4 separate regions of the Homo sapiens genome follow, and all the other regions are linked to region 1. The links are contacts of gene promoters, found by promoter capture Hi-C in blood cells and fetal thymus (Javierre and others, 2016). All regions are on one chromosome and are shown on one strand. The core of a region is centred on a gene start or on the middle of the fragment in contact, and the rest is flanking DNA. Distances in the headings are between cores, read along the strand shown. Region 1 holds the start of EN2 (engrailed homeobox 2). Region 2 overlaps RBM33 (RNA binding motif protein 33). Region 3 overlaps RBM33 (RNA binding motif protein 33). Region 4 holds the start of RBM33 (RNA binding motif protein 33).

Evidence for each region. Contacts are between HindIII fragments. The CHiCAGO score rates a contact against its expected background, and 5 or more counts as called.
Region 2: a contact is called between a fragment that was not itself captured here and the fragment with the promoter of EN2 in region 1, in 1 of 17 cell types (neutrophils). The highest score is 5.0, in neutrophils.
Region 3: a contact is called between a fragment that was not itself captured here and the fragment with the promoter of EN2 in region 1, in 1 of 17 cell types (neutrophils). The highest score is 5.2, in neutrophils.
Region 4: the fragment with the promoter of RBM33 here is called in contact with the fragment with the promoter of EN2 in region 1 in 6 of 17 cell types (neutrophils, monocytes, fetal thymus and 3 more); the score reaches 24.8 in neutrophils.

The regions. Positions count from the first base shown.
Region 1 is chr7:155,455,826-155,460,273 of GRCh38, forward strand. EN2 (engrailed homeobox 2) reads left to right here and starts at 2,304. Exons shown (of 2, transcript NM_001427.4): 1 at 2,304-3,237. The coding sequence starts at 2,553. It overlaps EN2-DT (EN2 divergent transcript), which reads right to left and starts at 1,293. Exons shown (of 3, transcript NR_186580.1): 1 at 1,165-1,293. RefSeq lists an enhancer at 966-1,957. The HindIII fragment of the contact is 14,368 bases long and covers 1-4,448 here.
Region 2 is chr7:155,695,645-155,700,092 of GRCh38, forward strand. The region is part of intron 5 of RBM33 (RNA binding motif protein 33); the gene reads left to right. Among named protein-coding and RNA genes, the nearest start is that of RBM33, 53 kb to the left of the region's middle. The HindIII fragment of the contact is 7,040 bases long and covers 1-4,448 here.
Region 3 is chr7:155,678,189-155,682,636 of GRCh38, forward strand. It overlaps RBM33 (RNA binding motif protein 33), which reads left to right. Exons shown (of 18, transcript NM_053043.3): 4 at 420-496; 5 at 2,402-2,720. Among named protein-coding and RNA genes, the nearest start is that of RBM33, 36 kb to the left of the region's middle. The HindIII fragment of the contact is 3,468 bases long and covers 130-3,597 here.
Region 4 is chr7:155,641,977-155,646,424 of GRCh38, forward strand. RBM33 (RNA binding motif protein 33) reads left to right here and starts at 2,685. Exons shown (of 18, transcript NM_053043.3): 1 at 2,685-2,943. The coding sequence starts at 2,901. RBM33-DT (RBM33 divergent transcript) reads right to left here and starts at 2,430. Exons shown (of 3, transcript NR_126344.1): 1 at 2,238-2,430; 2 at 1,492-1,628; 3 at 1-994. RefSeq lists an enhancer at 1,624-2,578 and a silencer at 2,503-3,012. The HindIII fragment of the contact is 4,649 bases long and covers 2,433-4,448 here.

The DNA of each region.
Region 1 (4,448 bases), core at 1,054-3,553:
AAGGACTCCTCCAATGAAGAAAAAGTGGAGGAATCCAGCCCCAGCGAGAAGAGGCTTCCCCACCCTGCCCTAGACACACCGGACAGAGGGCACACTCTGACCAGAGCCACGTCCAGTGGCCAGGAGGCCAGCCCAGCACCTCCTCCCCCACCATTCCCGTCCTGGGTGGGGGGGTAATTTTCCTGGGAGCAGCTGTGGGAACTGTCGTTTCTCATCCCAGCCCAGCCAGCACTCTGAAGCCTGCAGGGGAAGGACAGCACGTGGGATGGACACTGGGGAAGGAGCTTCGCAAGGCCAGGGTGCAACCTTCAGGCCCCAGGTGGCCTGGCAGGCCACGCTGCCTCGGAGATGCTTGCCAGACTCCCCAAGTTCACTCAGGGCCTGGCAGCAACCTGCTGGCTGCCTCTGCGGGGGTCTGGGTTGCTGAGCACGGTGCAGCTGCCCAGGGCCAATCAGCCCTAGGGTGTCCGTGCCAGGCTGCGGCCTCCCCGCCTCCCCCGCACTGAGGGTACTCATGGCGTGCAAATGCTCCCGCACCCCCAGAGCTGCCCTATCGGATGTTTCCAGGAATTCACACATTTCCATAAAAATGCATTTTAAATGATGGACAGGCGAGCCTGGGGTAACAACGGGTGTTTGGTGGGTAGACAAGAGCAAATGGGAAGGAGCCCGAGGGAGGAGGGGGAAGAGAAGAGGAAACAGAACTTCCAGTTGGACATTCTGACAACAGCTGGAAGGAAAGTCTAGAAAAGATGAAGAGAGAGGAGGGGAGAAACCAACTGGGGCTCCCACCCTTGCCGTTGGATTCCTAATTCTCGTTTCAAATGGGCCCTGCTCTCCGGCAAAATTAGTTTAAAGGATTTTAAAACAAAGAAAACGAGATGACCGGTCTGGGAGCTCCTCAATCAGAGTAGAGAAGTTAGAGGGGGGCGGGCGACTTGGTTTTGAAGTCTTAGCTGAACAGTCACCCCTCCTCTCCTTGGCAAAAAGGATTCCTTTAGAACCTCCGAGGCTCCTGGATTTCTCCCTTCGCAAATGGAGCCGCATACTGCATTCCCCCGCTCTTTCGGATCGCTAAGCATGTTTCATGAGGGTCGCTGTCCCCGGGTGGAATGCGGCCGTATGCACGCGCCTCCCTGCACACGCACACACACGCACACTTACAATAAGTGTCTGCAGGAGGAGTGTCCTGCGCGCCAGCTCTGCGTTTAAGACAGGAAGCTGCCGGGTTACCGAGTCAAATGGGAGTGACACTATTCCTCTCCATCAGCAAGGAAAGCGGACCACAAAAGTCCCTTTGTATCTCGGCAGCTCATTTAATATTATTTATGCATTTTGTGCAAGGAATTGTGGGATTTCGCCCCACGGTAAACAATATGGAAATCTTAAAAATAGCGATCTTCCTGTGCGTGTCCACCTACGCGCCCCGGGGTGACCTGGCGGGGCTGTCGCCGGGTGACTCACACCCCTGAACCGCGAAGCGACAGGGAAAGCGCGGGCGAGCGCAGGAGACGCGGTCGGGGGTCTCTCCGGGTTCCTGGGCTCCCGCACCCGGAGCGGGGGACGCGGCCGCTTTAAGGGGAGGAGGGGCGGCGGGCTGCTCCTGTCACCCAGCGGCGGCCGGAGCGTCACGTGGGCGCGCGGCGCCGCGGCCATTGGCCCGAGGCACGTGTCCAGGAGACCGGCCTGCGACGTCACTCGAGGGGGCTCTGTTAAAAATAAGAACAAAAATCCAGAGTGAAAGTGTCTCAGGTTGCGCCGAGTGGCCTGGAAATTTCCGAGCCCGCGCGGAGGCCGAGGCGGCGAGGGCGGCGGACGGCCGGGGAGCGCGGGCGGCCCAGCCCGGCCCGGCCGGGCCCTGGCCTCGCGTCTCTCACCCATGCGACTCGGGCCGCGGAGCTCTGCGGGGCTCGGCGGGGGCGCGGCCGCACGCCGGTGGGGCGCCCCGGCCCGCAGCGGGGCGGCGGCCGCGAGGAGGGGGCCTCCATGTGCGTGCGGGCGGTGGCGGGCGCGCTGACCGCGGGCGCCCGGCACCCTCGAGGGCCGGCTAGGGCGTGCGGGCGGGGACGGCCGGGCGGCGGCGGCGGCCGGAGCCGGCCCGGGCGGGCGTGAGCGCCGGGGAACGCGCTGCCTGCATGCGCGCAGCTCTCGCCCCGGGCGGCCCAGGCGGCGGCGCCGGAGCCCGAGGCGGCCGGACGCGGAGAGGAGCGGGGAGCCCGGGAGGCGGCCCGCGTCCCCGCCGGACCACTGCGACTGTCTAGACCCCGGCTGCGCGGCGAAGTCGAGGACTTGGCTCTGTTGAATCTCTCATCGTCTGGGCGAGCGGGGCGGCTCGTGGTGTTTCTAACCCAGTTCGTGGATTCAAAGGTGGCTCCGCGCCGAGCGCGGCCGGCGACTTGTAGGACCTCAGCCCTGGCCGCGGCCGCCGCGCACGCCCTCGGAAGACTCGGCGGGGTGGGGGCGCGGGGGTCTCCGTGTGCGCCGCGGGAGGGCCGAAGGCTGATTTGGAAGGGCGTCCCCGGAGAACCAGTGTGGGATTTACTGTGAACAGCATGGAGGAGAATGACCCCAAGCCTGGCGAAGCAGCGGCGGCGGTGGAGGGACAGCGGCAGCCGGAATCCAGCCCCGGCGGCGGCTCGGGCGGCGGCGGCGGTAGCAGCCCGGGCGAAGCGGACACCGGGCGCCGGCGGGCTCTGATGCTGCCCGCGGTCCTGCAGGCGCCCGGCAACCACCAGCACCCGCACCGCATCACCAACTTCTTCATCGACAACATCCTGCGGCCCGAGTTCGGCCGGCGAAAGGACGCGGGGACCTGCTGTGCGGGCGCGGGAGGAGGAAGGGGCGGCGGAGCCGGCGGCGAAGGCGGCGCGAGCGGTGCGGAGGGAGGCGGCGGCGCGGGCGGCTCGGAGCAGCTCTTGGGCTCGGGCTCCCGAGAGCCCCGGCAGAACCCGCCATGTGCGCCCGGCGCGGGCGGGCCGCTCCCAGCCGCCGGCAGCGACTCTCCGGGTGACGGGGAAGGCGGCTCCAAGACGCTCTCGCTGCACGGTGGCGCCAAGAAAGGCGGCGACCCCGGCGGCCCCCTGGACGGGTCGCTCAAGGCCCGCGGCTTGGGCGGCGGCGACCTGTCGGTGAGCTCGGACTCGGACAGCTCGCAAGCCGGCGCCAACCTGGGCGCGCAGCCCATGCTCTGGCCGGCGTGGGTCTACTGTACGCGCTACTCGGACCGGCCTTCTTCAGGTGAGCCCGCGGGGACCACGCGTCCCGGCTCGCCGCGGGGAGGCCCGCGGAGCTGGGGGGCGGTGCTGGCGCGGGAACTTACCGGGAGGAAAACATCTCGAACCTCCCCCGCGCACACGCACAAAGACTCACGCGACATTGTGTGAAGCTGACGCCGGCCCGGGCAGCGGCCAGGAGTCCAGCGGCAGGACTGATTCGCTAGGGGGTACAGACTTCTTAGGACCGCAGAAGGGACCTTCTTTCTTTCTCTGTCTCTCTCTCTCCTTCCTCTCTCCCTGTCTCCCCTCTCTGTCTTCCACCCCGCCTTGGCGCATCTCTTCCCAGCCCCTAGCCCATGTCTCCCCCACTGTAGTTTTTTTTGGTGGGAACGTGGTGGCTGGAAGATGGGCCCGGAAGTGCACACTCTCATCCCCTTCCCTACGATCTTCCAACTCAGGCCAGGCCGGGGACGCATGCCCCAGCCCACCCCAGACTTGTCCTACCATCCGGTTATCCCGGCTGTGCTCGGGGAAGAAAAGGCGAGGCCCTTTGCCGCTCTGCCTTCTGCCCCTCGGGCCTGCGCTGACCGGTGGGACTCAGGAGGATGCACACAGGGAAGGAGGAAAATAAAGGCGCCCTTTCCCCTTGGCTCCACTTTGTTTGCCAGCGCCAGCCCGCAGTGGTGGGGCTCAGCCCCCTTCCTGCACACAGCGAGGACAAGGGAGGCAGCCGTCCCTCCCGGCACCTGCCATCCCCAAATAGAAAGGACCTTCTCTCAGGGTTTCCTGGGGGCTGCTGATGGGAAAGAGGCAGCATTCGCAGGGGCCCTGCAGAGATGCTGGATATATTTTTTCATAGATCTGCGATTTTAAAAAACTAAGTCCATGTCCTTGTAGAAATCATCAACTGCATTCCATGCGGGTCTGCGGCTGGGAACCGCCATTAGAAGTGGACTGTTTGACCCCGAGCTGGCAGCGGATCCCCGCTGCCCCCAAACCCTCAACTATTTTGCGGGGGTCATTTGCCCAGATCACAGCAGGAGTGAGCCAACCCTTGGGCCGCCATCCCGCAGAACTATGCGTGCATATTTCTGATGAAATTCAGATTTCTCAGCTAGATCTGAAATTTGCTCCATTGTTCTCGTCTTCCTCCTTTGTTAATATTTAATTAACATACAGGCTCACAATGCCGGGCGAGGAGACTCGGCCGGGCTTTGTGCGGCGCGGGAGTTC
Region 2 (4,448 bases), core at 1,039-3,538, 240 kb after region 1:
GAGACAGGGTTTCACCACGTTGGCCAAGCTGGTCTTGAACTCCTGACCTCAAGTGATCTGCCCGCCTTGGCCTCCCAAAGTGCCGGGATTATAGGCGTGAGCTACCATGCCTGGCCTCATTTTCTTAAATATGTCTTTTCATGAGCAGAAAATTTTAATTTTGTTGAAGTATGAAGAATTTTGTGACCTAAGAAATCTTTGTTTACTCCAAAGTTGTTATCTTGTTTTCTTCTGGACACTTTACAGTATTAATTTTAGTTAAGATTATGATCTATCTCAATATGTGCGCACGTGTGTGTGTGTGTGTGGTATGAGATTCCGTTTTTTCCATACGTTTTTCTAATTGTTCACCACTATTTGTTGTAATGACTTTCCTTTCCCTTTGGAGTGCCACAGTGCTTGTCCTGACAATAAAATTAGGTTTTAGTCTCTTTCTGGTTCTCTTTTCTGTTGTTTCTGTTGTTTCTGTTGTTTTTGTATCCCTATATCAGTACTATACAGTCTTGATTACTGTAACATGAAAGCATGTTGTGTAAATCCACTAATTTTATTCTTCCTTTAATTATTTTGGCTATTCATGGTCCTTTGAATTTCTGTATAAATTGTGGAACGGACTTGTGAATAACTACTTAAAAGTCTGGTTAGGATTTTGATAGAGAATGGATAGTGTTTTTAAATCATATTGGGAGACACTAACATCTTAATAATCATATTGCCTGTTAATAATGACAGTTTTAAAATTCTTCCTTTTCAATCTATATCCATTTCTTTCTTTCTTTTGTATCATTGACCTCCGGTACTCTGTGACTAGAAACATTCAGGACAGACATTCTTACCTATTCCTGATGTTAGGGGGAAAATGTTTATTTCATCATTAAGTATGCTAGCTGTACGTTTTTATATCAGATTGAAGAAGGTCTTTTCTATTTTGAGTTTGCTGGGATTTTCTTAAAAATCAGAAATGGGTATTGAATTTTGTTGATGCTTCTTTTTTGCATCTATTGAGATAATTATATGGCTTTTATTCCTTATTGTGAATTAAATTAACTTAAAAAAATGATGAACCATGTTCCAGATTTTATTTCCATTTGACTGGTTTTTCTCTTCATGACCTCTCACTGGTCTAGGACCCAAGCCACATAACCCATCGTTGTCTCTCCATTCCCCTTTGTTGTGTGACAGTTTCTTAGTGTTTCCCTGTATTTCATGACCTTGACAGCTTTAGGAAGTGCTGGCCGAGTATGCTGTATGATGTCTCCCAATCTCAGTTTGTTTGACGCTTTTTTCATGATTAGCTTGAGGTTGTGGATTTTGGAAAGAACACTATGGAACCCTTGTGCCACTGGGCGCATGACATCCACAACGCCCCTGGCAATGCCCACCTTGGTCATTTGGGTCAAGCAGTGTCTGCCAGTTTTCTTCATTGTAATGTTGCTTTCTCTTTCCTTATTCAGTTCTTTGGAAACAAGTCACTAAGTGTAGGCTACCTTAAGGGATGGGGTTCTGGGGAGAGGGGAGGAAAGCAACTTAAGCCCCACCTCCTGGAGGAGGAGGAGGAGGAGTATCTCCATAGATTTGGAATTCTTCAGGTAAGATTTGACTGATTTTTGAGTGTTAACGTCATGTTTCTGGATAAACCCCACTTGGTTGTGATGTATTATCCTTTTTATATTTGGTGAGATTCCGTGTACTTTTACTTTTAAAAAAGATTTTGTTTCTGTATTAATGAAGGACACTGGTCTGTAATTCTTTTTCTTCTAATTTTTGCACAGTTTGCTTAGTCTTTCCAACCCATAAATTTTCACTGTTGGTAGAATGACTTTCATTTTTATTTGATGATGTATCAATAATTCTATCAATAAGCATTAAAAACTTAGTGAGCTTTTTGTAAGCAATGTTTTCTCTTTTGCACTCTCTCTCTCTCTATATATATAGATTTGTGTGTGTGTGTGTGTGGTGTATGTGTTTCAGAGAACTACCCATTGTTTCTGTTTAGATTTTGGGATAGAATATTGAATTTTCTTTCAGAACACTGAGATCATACTTTCATTTCAGAATTAGCTGGAGAACTTCAAAATATATACAAGTCTGAGTATTTTTCCCTCTTTGCTTTTCCAGTTCTTTCTACATTTACGAAATAAAGCCTAAGTGGACCTCTCTGTTTTTTTAAGTACTTTGATGGTGATTTTCATATGCAGTCTGTATTAAGGATTAAAAATAAATCTTTCAGGTTTTCACAATAAATCAGTAACTAAAAATCAAACCTTTGACTATTTTTGTCAATGTCTATAGTGAAATGAAAGATTTACATGCACATTTAAATGTTTACACAACATAATCTTAGGATAGTTTGATTTTTATGTTGTAGCAGCACACTACCCATCAGTGGAATGTAGCTTGTCAATGGCATGCTAGGTAATATTTGTTAAAAATTATACAGAAGGCCAGGCGTGGTGGCTCAGGCCTGTAATCCCAGCACTCTGGGAGGCCGAGGTCGGTAGATCACGAGGTCAGGATTTTGAGACCAGCCTGACCAACATGGTGATACCCCGTCTCTACTAAAAATACAAAAATTAGCCTGGCGTGGTGGTGGACGCCTGTGATCTCAGCTACTCGGGAGGCTGAAGCAGGAGAATTGCTTGAACCTGGGAGGCAGAGGTTGTCGTGAGCTGAGATCGCACCACTGCACTCCAGCCTGGGCAACAGAGCAAGACTCCATCTCAGGGAAAAAAAAAAATTATACAGGAGGTCAACGTTTTGGTAGACAGGTTAGTTTTCTAAACCATATGGTGAAGGGGGATGGATTTTTTAAGCCCCATATTTAGAATAAGAGGCTGAAGAATTAAGTCTAGCTTAGTGGATGTTGTCAAATGGGCTGCAGTTAAGCAAGTGCTATCAGCCGTGTTTGGTGGTTTGTCAGGTTAGTTTCCCTAATCTTTGATGTAGTTCAAGGATTAACTGAGCCCCAAGATTTGGACCAGAAGTTTGCATTCTAGGATGGTTCCATCACTCAAAAATATTCCTTGTGCTATCCTTTTGTGGCCATACCTTTCCTTCTTTCCTAACCACTGGTTACCAGTGTAATTTTGTTCCTTGGAGAATATCATATAAATGGAATCATTGCAGTGTATAACCCTTTGAGATTGACTTGTTTTACTCAGTATAATGATGCCTTTATGGTTTTATCCCTGTTATGTCAATAGACCTATTGCGAAGTAGCATTCTGTGGTTTGGATGTACAAGAGTTTATCCATTCATTCATTGAAGGACATTTAAGTGTTTCCAGTTGTAGTGATCCTGAATAGAATAAACATTTTCCTATAGGTCTATTTGAACATAAGGTATCATTTCTCTAGGGTAAATATCTAGGAAGAAACAATTTTCAACTCATCTTTATCCTCTTTAGATTTCTTAGATGGAGATTTGGATGCAGAATAAGCTATATTAATTTCCGTGCTGTCTTGTTTTACATTAAACTTGTTTGGAAAGTCTTTGAACTGTGCTTACAGTTGTTAATAGTTGAATTGAAGATGACTTTGTAGAATCTTTGCTTTGTTGGTAGTGATTTCTTTTCCTCCCTTTTGGACTTGCTACTCTACTCAGTGTAGTCTGTGGACCTGAAATGTTGGCGTCACCTGGGAGCTTGTTAGAAATGCAGAACCCCAGGCCCCATCCTGAATCGGCTGAGTCAGAATCTGCTTTTCAACATGATTCCCACTGATGACTGGGCATTGAATTGGAGAAGTGCTGCTCTAGAGCATCATGGGAGCGGAGAATAGACGTCCTAAGGAAGCTGGCTTTGGTTCTGTTGGGAAGTGTGGTGCAGCACGTACCTTGCAGGCATCCATTCTGATTTCAAACACTCAGTAGTACAGAAATAACGGTATCAAACCAGCAAAAATCCTGAGATTTTGGTACTTTAAAATTCTACGGTATGCTGGACGTCAGCATACTGAGTGGGGGTATTGTAATTGTCAGGCTTAAGGTGAAAGTTGTAGTTTACTGTCATCTCCTGCTGTTCAGGCATTTGCTCTCCGAAAGATCTTTTTCCACTGGGAGGATTTATAGTAGAGTGTGCATTTGTAGTTGGTCTTTTTACACAGAAAATACTGAAAAAGGCAAGAATATAAAATGATTGTGTCATTGGTTTGTTTTCATTTTTTTCTTGTGCATTTTCTAATAAAGTTCACTGTTACTTCTATTAAGAGTAAATAACATTTACATATTACAAATCATGAGACTAAAGGAGCAAATATATTCTCCTTACATTGATAAAAAGTATCTAAATTAACCTTGCTCTCTGTAGGTACTTATTTTATGTCTAAGAGTGGGTCACAGAGACTGATCTGAGGTGAGAGGTGATTCTTTCACTAGGAACATGAGTGATACTTGGCAGTAAGAATTGTCCACAAAGAAATTACTTTTAATTTGGGCTGGGGTTAGGGAAA
Region 3 (4,448 bases), core at 614-3,113, 220 kb after region 1:
TTCTAAAATTACACTTTTTGTGTTGTTTAAAAAATCTTTAGGTTTTGGATATTAGCATGTTAAATTTAGTAGTACCTTAAGGATATCTTTCTTTTTTTGTGTATTATAAGGAAATATTATTTGTTCGTAAGCTTCCACCAATGGACTTCTTACCTTTTCTCTTTTGTGTGAGAATAAATGTGATCGTTACACTTGGTGTTTTTACATTTAACTTGCCTGGGCACCTGAAGCTGAGCCCAGGAGGGATCCACATGCCTTGTGTGGGATTTCTTGATTATCCACTGGTGACCAGAAAGCCTTCCGGGTGGCAAACGTTTTAATATAAGGCTAGGAACAATTCAGTCAGTGTAATTTTGTGCTTTTTAACAAGTCTTTTTATGGAAGTGACACACATTAATTATATTTCTTATTTTAATTAGAATCAGTCGGATTTGTCAGATGAAGAGCTAAATGATGATCTTTTGCAGAGTGATAATGAAGATGAAGAAAATTTCAGGTACTCAATATTACCTCATTATAAATGTTCTTTATTTAACTAAATTGATAGGAACTGTTATTTATAATTATAATGGAATGTAATTGAATAATGTAGCCTTATATCTTTAACACATGATTACATTCTAAATGGAATACTAGTAATAACTGTAGAAGCCATATGGATGTTCTGTAAACAGAGCAGCTGTTTAAAATAAGCAGTTCTTGGCCAGGCGTTGTAGCTCGTGCCTATAAACCCAGCACTTTGGGAGGCTGAGGCAGGTGGATCACTTGAGGTCAGGAGTTTGAGACCAGCCTGGTTAACATGGTGAAACCCTGTCTCTACTAAAAATACAAAAATTAGCCAGGCGTAGTGGCCCGCGCCTATAGTCCCAGCTACTTGGAGGGCTGAAGCAGGAGAATTGCTTGATCCACAGAGGTGGAGGTTGCAGTGAGCCGAGATTGTGCCACTGCACTCCAGCCTGGGAGACAGAGTGAAACGCCGTCTTAAAAAAAAAAAAACAAAAAACAAAAAATCAGTAGGTCTTTCATTTAATGATCCCTGTGAGTTCTGTTCAGTGCAGGTTATGAAGATTTAGTATGGATATATGCTGCTTTTCTAAAGAATTCCTCTACTCGGATGGAGGGCAGTGGCTTGGGACTCTCAACACCATTGCAGTTCGATACTGCTGCATTTGTCTTCATTTTAGCCAGTTGATTTAGATCATTTACTGAATTACCATTTTGGGCACTTTGGGAGGTGCTACTTTAGACTCTAGTTGACTGATACGATGAATGTCTTTCTGTTGACATATAGTAAGCTATATTAAAAGAGGAGAGACACACTGGTAGGTGGAATAATAGTTTTTATTTTATGAGGAAACATCGGGAAAATGTAGACAAGCTCTTGTTATAAATGTAATTAACAAATATATGCCATTTATTATTGAGCCATGGATTTGTAACAGATTTTCTAACATAAAGTAATTTTTACAGGTAAAAATAAGTTTTAAATTATTCTACCAGTCAGATAAATTTCCCAATTCCATTCTTTGACATCACTGTTATATTTTAATCTTTTGAGTTAGATTGTCTTTTAGAAATACATCATTGAAGTTTTTTAGACACAGTATCTTGAAGTCTAAGAGGTGTATTAATTTTTTGTTAGGATTGAGTGCTATGTGTGAACACAGATTTGCACGATCTTACATGGGAAATGTTATCTTGCACCTTATTGTTTGGTATTTAACTGTTGTGATTTAATAGGTGGAACATGTTTTTTTTGCAGTTTCAAAACCTTTGTTATTTTACTTAGAAATTATGAACAATTTTTAAAGATATTTGTGACTAATATAAATTTATTTATTTGAACACTGAAATGTATTTTCACACAAATTTTTAATATTTTGATTTTCTTAAACAGGAGTTTATAATTTCTATCACAGATGTAAGAAAAAAATTGTTCTTAAAATTCCGATTCTGATTTTCTCCTTATAGAATAATACTCCTGTTTTTACTTTGAACTCTTAGCAGTTTCTGTCTATTTCATTTTGTAAATTAGAATGAAATATAGGCTATTTGATTTCAGTCTTGGACTTTTGCCACTCAGATGTGTTTCATCTGTGGTTGATTTAATTCATTTGGTCAAATAACCTGCAGCTGGTGATAAGTAGAGGGGCTATATGCATTGCCAGTCTGTGGCCGGCTCCATATAGCACAGTTAGCTCTGCTGTACGCATTAAGGGTTTAGGGCACTGGCTCTGTATAGCATTTTGAGTACTGTTGGAGTTAATGTGCATTTGTCAGTAACTGGAATAACTTTTTATCAGTCATGGTTTAAATCTTTGTAACAGCTATTTATATAATGATTTAGTTTGAGCTCCTCTCTTCATTGGGTGCTTTTTTTTTTTATTTTCGTCCTCTCTAGTTCTCAGGGTGTTACAATTAGTCTGAATGCTACATCTGGCATGGTTACATCATTTGAACTCTCTGACAACACTAACGACCAATCTGGAGAACAGGAATCTGAGTATGAACAAGAACAAGGAGAGGATGAACTGGTTTATCACAAATCTGATGGATCAGAATTGTATACTCAAGAGTACCCAGAAGAAGGACAGTATGAAGGCCACGAAGCTGAGTTGACAGAAGACCAAATAGAATATGTGGAAGAGCCAGAGGAGGAGCAGCTTTACACTGATGAAGTGTTAGACATCGAGATCAATGAACCTTTAGATGAATTTACAGTGAGTCTTTTCTCCTTTGTATGGCCAAAGATAACCTGGCTTCCCATGCATAGGCTTCTAGACTGATTTGAAATCTATTTACCTCCCCTGGGAGGGAGGGGAAATTAGACCTTATTATCACTCTCTGCCAGTTTCTTTATCTGAGCTATGACAAAGTTTGTGTTGACAGCTTGTTTGACCAGAGGTAATGCTCCTTTGTCATTCTGGAAGGCTGCAAAGAATCGTGACCTTGAGGATTGTACCCTAAGGAAGAAAACAGCTTTGTGTGGTGGGGATACACTGTCAATTGTTAGGAGTACTTAATGCAGAGCTTTTATCCTGGCTTTAGACAAGATCTGATAAAGTCCTTCTAAGGCGAAAAGATTATTGACCTGCTAAAGACATCTTTAAGGTGCTAATATTCCAGAGTGATTGATGTCCTGTTCATTCATCCTTTTTGTAGATGAGAACTGTCTAAACCTGAATAAAGAGATTGGAGGTTAGTTTAGGAAATGTCACATATAATTCGTTATCTATAATCAGGAAGCAAGATTGTGCTGATTTTTTATTTCAGAAAGATGATTTTGGTAGGTAGTTTTTTTTTTTCAAAGTTGAACCAACAAGAAAGAAAAAATGTACTAGTGTAAGATTCTCACCTTTAAATGACTCATTATCAAAAGAGATTTGTTTTTTAAAATAAGCATGTAACGAAATTTATGAGGGAAGGATGTGATCTCAGTAGCTGTAGTAGAATCTTAGGGTTTTTGGGAACACTATGGGGGCCGAGTGAATGGGGCTGTTGGGATGGTGACAGAAGTATGCAAAATTGGGGCCTTAAAGAGCCCATTTGCAATGGGAGTAGCTTTGCTTTTCTGTATTTACATCTTCATTCGGAGGAAGCTTTTGTTTCAAAAAAATAGTTTAGAAGTTGCTGAATTGTGGTCATGTGTATGAGTAATTTTGAAAAGGATTAATTGTTTATGTGGAACCTTTGAATATTTAGTTCCAGTCATGATTGTATTTAGGTGTCTCAGTAGTTTTTTTTTTTTTCTAGACGGACTCTTGGTTTGTCGCCCAGGCTGGAGTGCAGTGGTGCGATCTCCACTCACTGCAACCTCCACCTTCTGGGTTCAAACAATTCTCCTGCCTCAGCCTCCTGAGTAGCTGAGATTACAGGCGCCCACCATCACGCCTGGCTGATTTTTGTATTTTTTGTAGAGATGGGGTTTCCCCATGTTGCCCAAGCTGATCTCGAACTCTTGACCTCAAGTTATCCGCCCGCCTCGTCCTCCCAAAGTGCTGGGATTACAGGCATGAGCCTCGGTGCCTGGCCCTCAATAGTTTTAAGATTTAATTTTTTTTGGTTAATATTTGCTCTTTGGTAGATACAGTAATGAGAGATGTTTGTAGTTTTGGTAAATAGAATCATGTAAAAGGCATCATGGGGAACTTGTTATTTCCATAACCCTGTAATAATTTGTTCTAGTAATCCTTCGCTAATGTAGGCACGTGCCTTCTGCTTTACTGGTGTGTTTGTATGCTCTTAAAGTTAGACACTGTAATTTAAAATGCTTTTTGAAAATTAAACCAAGATCTTTTAGAATTGTGCCTAGTTATTGCCTAGTTAGAGTATTTTATTATTTCTGTTACTCATCAGTAAAGTAAGATGATTGGCTAATCGTCCTGGGTTCTTTCCTCCTGTAAGTTCAGCAGTCCAACAAGTCTTTACTGATGTCTAAGCACTGCGGA
Region 4 (4,448 bases), core at 1,435-3,934, 190 kb after region 1:
TATGTATGAAACTGCAGCGCTCACTAGGTAGTCTTCTTAGGTTTAACCCCTGACACTCATATAATGCCACGCCTGGCAGCAGCTCCACTTTGGAGGACTGAGGAGAAGAAACACACTTCACTGCGGTACAGGCATGGAAGAGCTCTACTCTTTGGCCCAAATGCAATTCAGGAGCAAACCATTATGGGTGGGGGCTTGGCTTGGAAGTCCTTGACCGGCGGGAAACCAGTTCCCTGAGTTTGTCTTTTAGATTCCCACATTCAGTTAAGACAGTAACAGAGGCTAAAGGTATGGCTTCCCACTAGGTGTTTTAAGATTATTCAGTACTTTCAAGCCAGAGGCAGTCTACATGTCAGAGGTCATTTTTACCATGAGCAATGTTTTATTTATTTATTTGGAGATGGAGTTTCACTCTTGTCACCTAGGCTGGAGTGTAGTGGTGTGATCTCGGCTCACTGCAACCTCCACCTCCTGAGTTCAAGTGATTCTTGTGCCTCAGCCTCCCAGGTAGCTGGGATTACATGCATGTGCCACCACACCCAGCTAATTTTTGTATTTTTAGTAGGGATGGGGTTTTGCCATGTGGGCCAGGCTGGTCTTGAACTCCTGACCTCAGGTGATCCACCTGTCTTGGCCTCCCAAAGTGTTGGGATTACAGGCGTGAGCCACCGCGCCTGGCCTACAACCAATGTTGTTTTATACCACAATGAACACTCTGCCTTCATAAGGTTTCTATGACAAGTTAAAGTTAACACAAAGTGAAGTTTGTTCATAGATAAGGACAAGGGGTTGGTTAAATCTTTACTCACAGTAATTTACCAAGAACTTCAAATACTGGGTGTCCACGCTAAAAAATTTTTCCAGTGGGTGTTTGATCAAAAAATTTTATAGACTCTTGTTCTAGAGAAATTCAGTTTCAAGTGGCTTATGAGATTGTTTCATCTGTTAATTTGGTTTTTTGTGGAATTCTTCTGAAGATCACCACTGAATTATCCTGAAAAATATTTTCTGAGTTAGGCATGCCATCCTCCACAGTTCAAAAAATAATGAAAGGTGATAAAGAGTTCAAGCCATTTAAATATGGATGTATTAACGTGCTTTTTAATAGAGACCATTTTTCAATGAGTTGCTTGCAAAACATTTTTTTTGGGGAGTGAGTTCTCACAGTTGAATAATTTTTTTGTTTTTTTTTGAGACAGAATCTCGCTCTGTCACCCAGGCTGGATTGCCGTGGCGCAATCTCGGCTCACTGCAACCTCCGCCTCCTCGATTCAAGCAATTCTCCTGCCTCAGCCTCCTGAGTAGCTGGGATTACAGGCGCGTGCCACCACGCCCAACTAATTTTTGTATTTTTAGTAGAGACGGGGTTTCACCATGTTGGTCAGGCTGGTCTCAAACTCCTGACCTCGTGATCCACCCACCTCAGCCTCCCAAAGTGGTGGGATTACAGGCGTGAGCCACCGCGCCCGGCCAGCATTTTATTATACGTACCGTTTTATCATCTCTTCACCCATCCACCAATGCATCTCCTGTATGGACGTCTTGATTGTTAACTCACGGCACTGGACCTCCAGTTTCATGCCTCTCCACATTGCAGGGTCCTCTACGTTGTTGTATCAGTCACCTTTCTAAAATACAAATCTTACCATGTAAATTGTTTCTAAAATCTTTCAATAGACCCCATAGACTCAGAAAAACGTCCCAAAGTCCGGAATCCTGGCCCCTGCCTACCTTTCCAGTTTCATTGCTGGGTCAGAACGCCTCACCTAAGCCCCACATTGACCGATATGGAATCAATGTTTACAGCCGGTGTGTACTTAATCAACCCCCTTCCCCGACTGCGACCACTCAGATGCGCCTTCCCGGGCCCCACACCCCAAAACCCCTGAGCCCTTTCGTCCACAGCTGTCTGACCACCCAGCACCCTTTCCTTTATGTCAAGTATGAGGATTTCGTTTCTTAACCTTTCTCACTGCTCAAAATGCAAACTCAGACATGAGTGCCGGGCGCTATCCGTCCTGCTCACGTCTTGTTCTCAGGGCCGCAAGGCGCAGGGGCAGTAAGGGCCGAGAGCCCATCAGGGTCCGGCGCTGCCCGCTGCCCAGCCGGGCGCGGAGAAGGGGACGGGGGTCCGGGGTCGCGGGTCCGGAGGGTCTCGGGTTGTAGGAAGTGAGGGCTCGCGGGCGCCGCACGAGTGCGCGTGCACGTTAGCCCGGCGCGCGCGGCACTCATCTCACCTCGCGGAAGCACCTGCCGGAGCTGTGTGCACCCTTTCCTGCCCTCAACACAAGCCGTCGGCGTTCACTACTGTAGCTCATTCAGACCCCACTCTCCAACCTACTGTCCAGGCACAGAAACGACAGTTAAGGTTCCCCCGGACCGTACGCTGGACCTTGCCTCCCCGGCTCCTAACGGGAGACGGGCTGCCGTAAAGCTTCGCTTTGCCGACTGCTGCAAAGCGCCTTACGACTGAACCCGGAATCGACCTATGGCCAGCAGTCGTCCCCGCCCTGCTTCAAACATTTGGGTTTCAGGAGCCGGGCGGAGGTGACTGCCGCGTGTTTGCGTTGCACGCCCACCGCCCGAAACACGGCGGCGGCCTCAGGGCTGCTGCGGCCTCGGCGGGGGCAGGCCCCGGCGCCCGCCCGCCTCCCGGCCTCCATCATCCCAGGGTGCACCGCGGCGGGCGCGGGCGCGCGGCCATGTTGCGGTAGTTTGTTGTTTTCTTCCTGCGGAGGCGAAGGGCCAGCTGTGGACCGCGAAGCGCCCGGCTTCGCCTCTGCCTCCTGCAGCCCCCTCCCTTCTCTGTCCTCCGTCACCCGTACCCGGGCCCGGACCAGGCACGTCGGCCCACCAGCTGGCTTGGTGGGGGAGGCTGAAGGCCGGGCCCCGCGAGTGCCATGGCGGCCGCCCTGGGAGCGAGCGGAGGAGCAGGCGCCGGAGGTACGTGAGGCAGCCGGACTCTGGGGGCCAGGACCGCGCCGCGGTGGGCGGGGGTGTAGGCCGGGGGGCCTCCCCGCTTAGGAGAGGACGAGGCTCTCCCCGGCTCCGACTCTCTTTGTGTTCGGCCTATTCCGTTTTCTCCCTCGCCTTCCCTCGCTATTGTCATTCTCCCTTTCTCGCTCCTCCTCTCCGCTGTGCAGATCGTACTTACCTGTGAACTTCTGTGTGTCCTCTACTTTGCAAGGCTGCCTAAGTGTCAGGCCCATCTCTGGCGTTGGCGGGCATTAAGTGCCGAAGCCGGCCTGGTGTCCTATGGGTAGGAGAGCGCCCCCCCCACCCCCCGAGACAGTGTCACTTAGGGAGAGCGGGGCAGGTCGCTGTAGGGTGGGTGTTTAAGATTGTGGGGCCATCCTGACAGATTTAGATTGATTTGAAGCCCATTACAAAAACATAACGAAAAGATTCACCTGTGTGAAGGAATGTGCGACAGTAGGCCAGTTTGGAAAGTGAGATTTCTTGAGAAAGTCTCAATAAATCCCTGTTTTAAATTAACTTATTTGTTGTCTAATAACCTGTTAGTGTTTTATGTGCGTCTTCCAAAAGTGAAAACGTGACACAAAAGGTTTAGATACTGAGTCAGTTCCTTTGGATAGTTTTTCTTGTTTGCAAGCATAAACAGTATTGATGAAACACCTATCTCTAAAAAATTGTAGGTAAATTACTTTCAGGTAAAATTACATATCACTGGGGGTTTTAAAAACGTGGAGAGATACTTGAAAGTGACTTTTTAAGTGATTATTTTGAAAACTTTGAAAAGATGGTAAAATATGGATAACAAAAGCATTTGGGATTAGTTCTTACCATTGAAACGTTGAAAAGCCAGTCTAGTGTATACTCGAGAAGTATTTTTTAGTAAATGCTAGCAGATGGTTACGTTGTTATCATCCTGTTTAGGAATTTTGGCCCAACTGTCAAAACGTTTGCCTGACAAAATGGAAAAACAAAAAAGACTAAGTGTAGGAATGTCGCTTCTGGCAATTTGGTTTGCTATATGCCACTTTTCTTTCAGTTTAAATACATGATGTTTGCGTGTTACATCTGAGACTAATTAAAATTTTAAAATGTATAGTTCACCTATCTTTCTGGGGGTCAGAATTACTTGTTTTATAGCATTCCCAGTGTAACCTGGGAACTCTTGGGTGAACACTCTTTTCATTAGAAAGACTAAGGTGTTATTTGTATTTTTTCTCTTTTCTTTCAGTAGTGTACAGTGGAGTTTTCTAGAGGCTGAATAACATGTGAAGACGTTATGCTGATGGCTAATGGAATATATGCTTGTGTATTCTTTTACGTTTCTCATTTTAAATTTCTAAAATAGTAATATCACTGAATGTAATCCAGATAAACAGGCATTTTTGGGTCTTCAATAATTTTGAGGTCAGAAGTTTTGAGAATTGCTATTTTAGAAGAATAAGTAGGCTTTATTCATGATGCTTTGGAGTTTT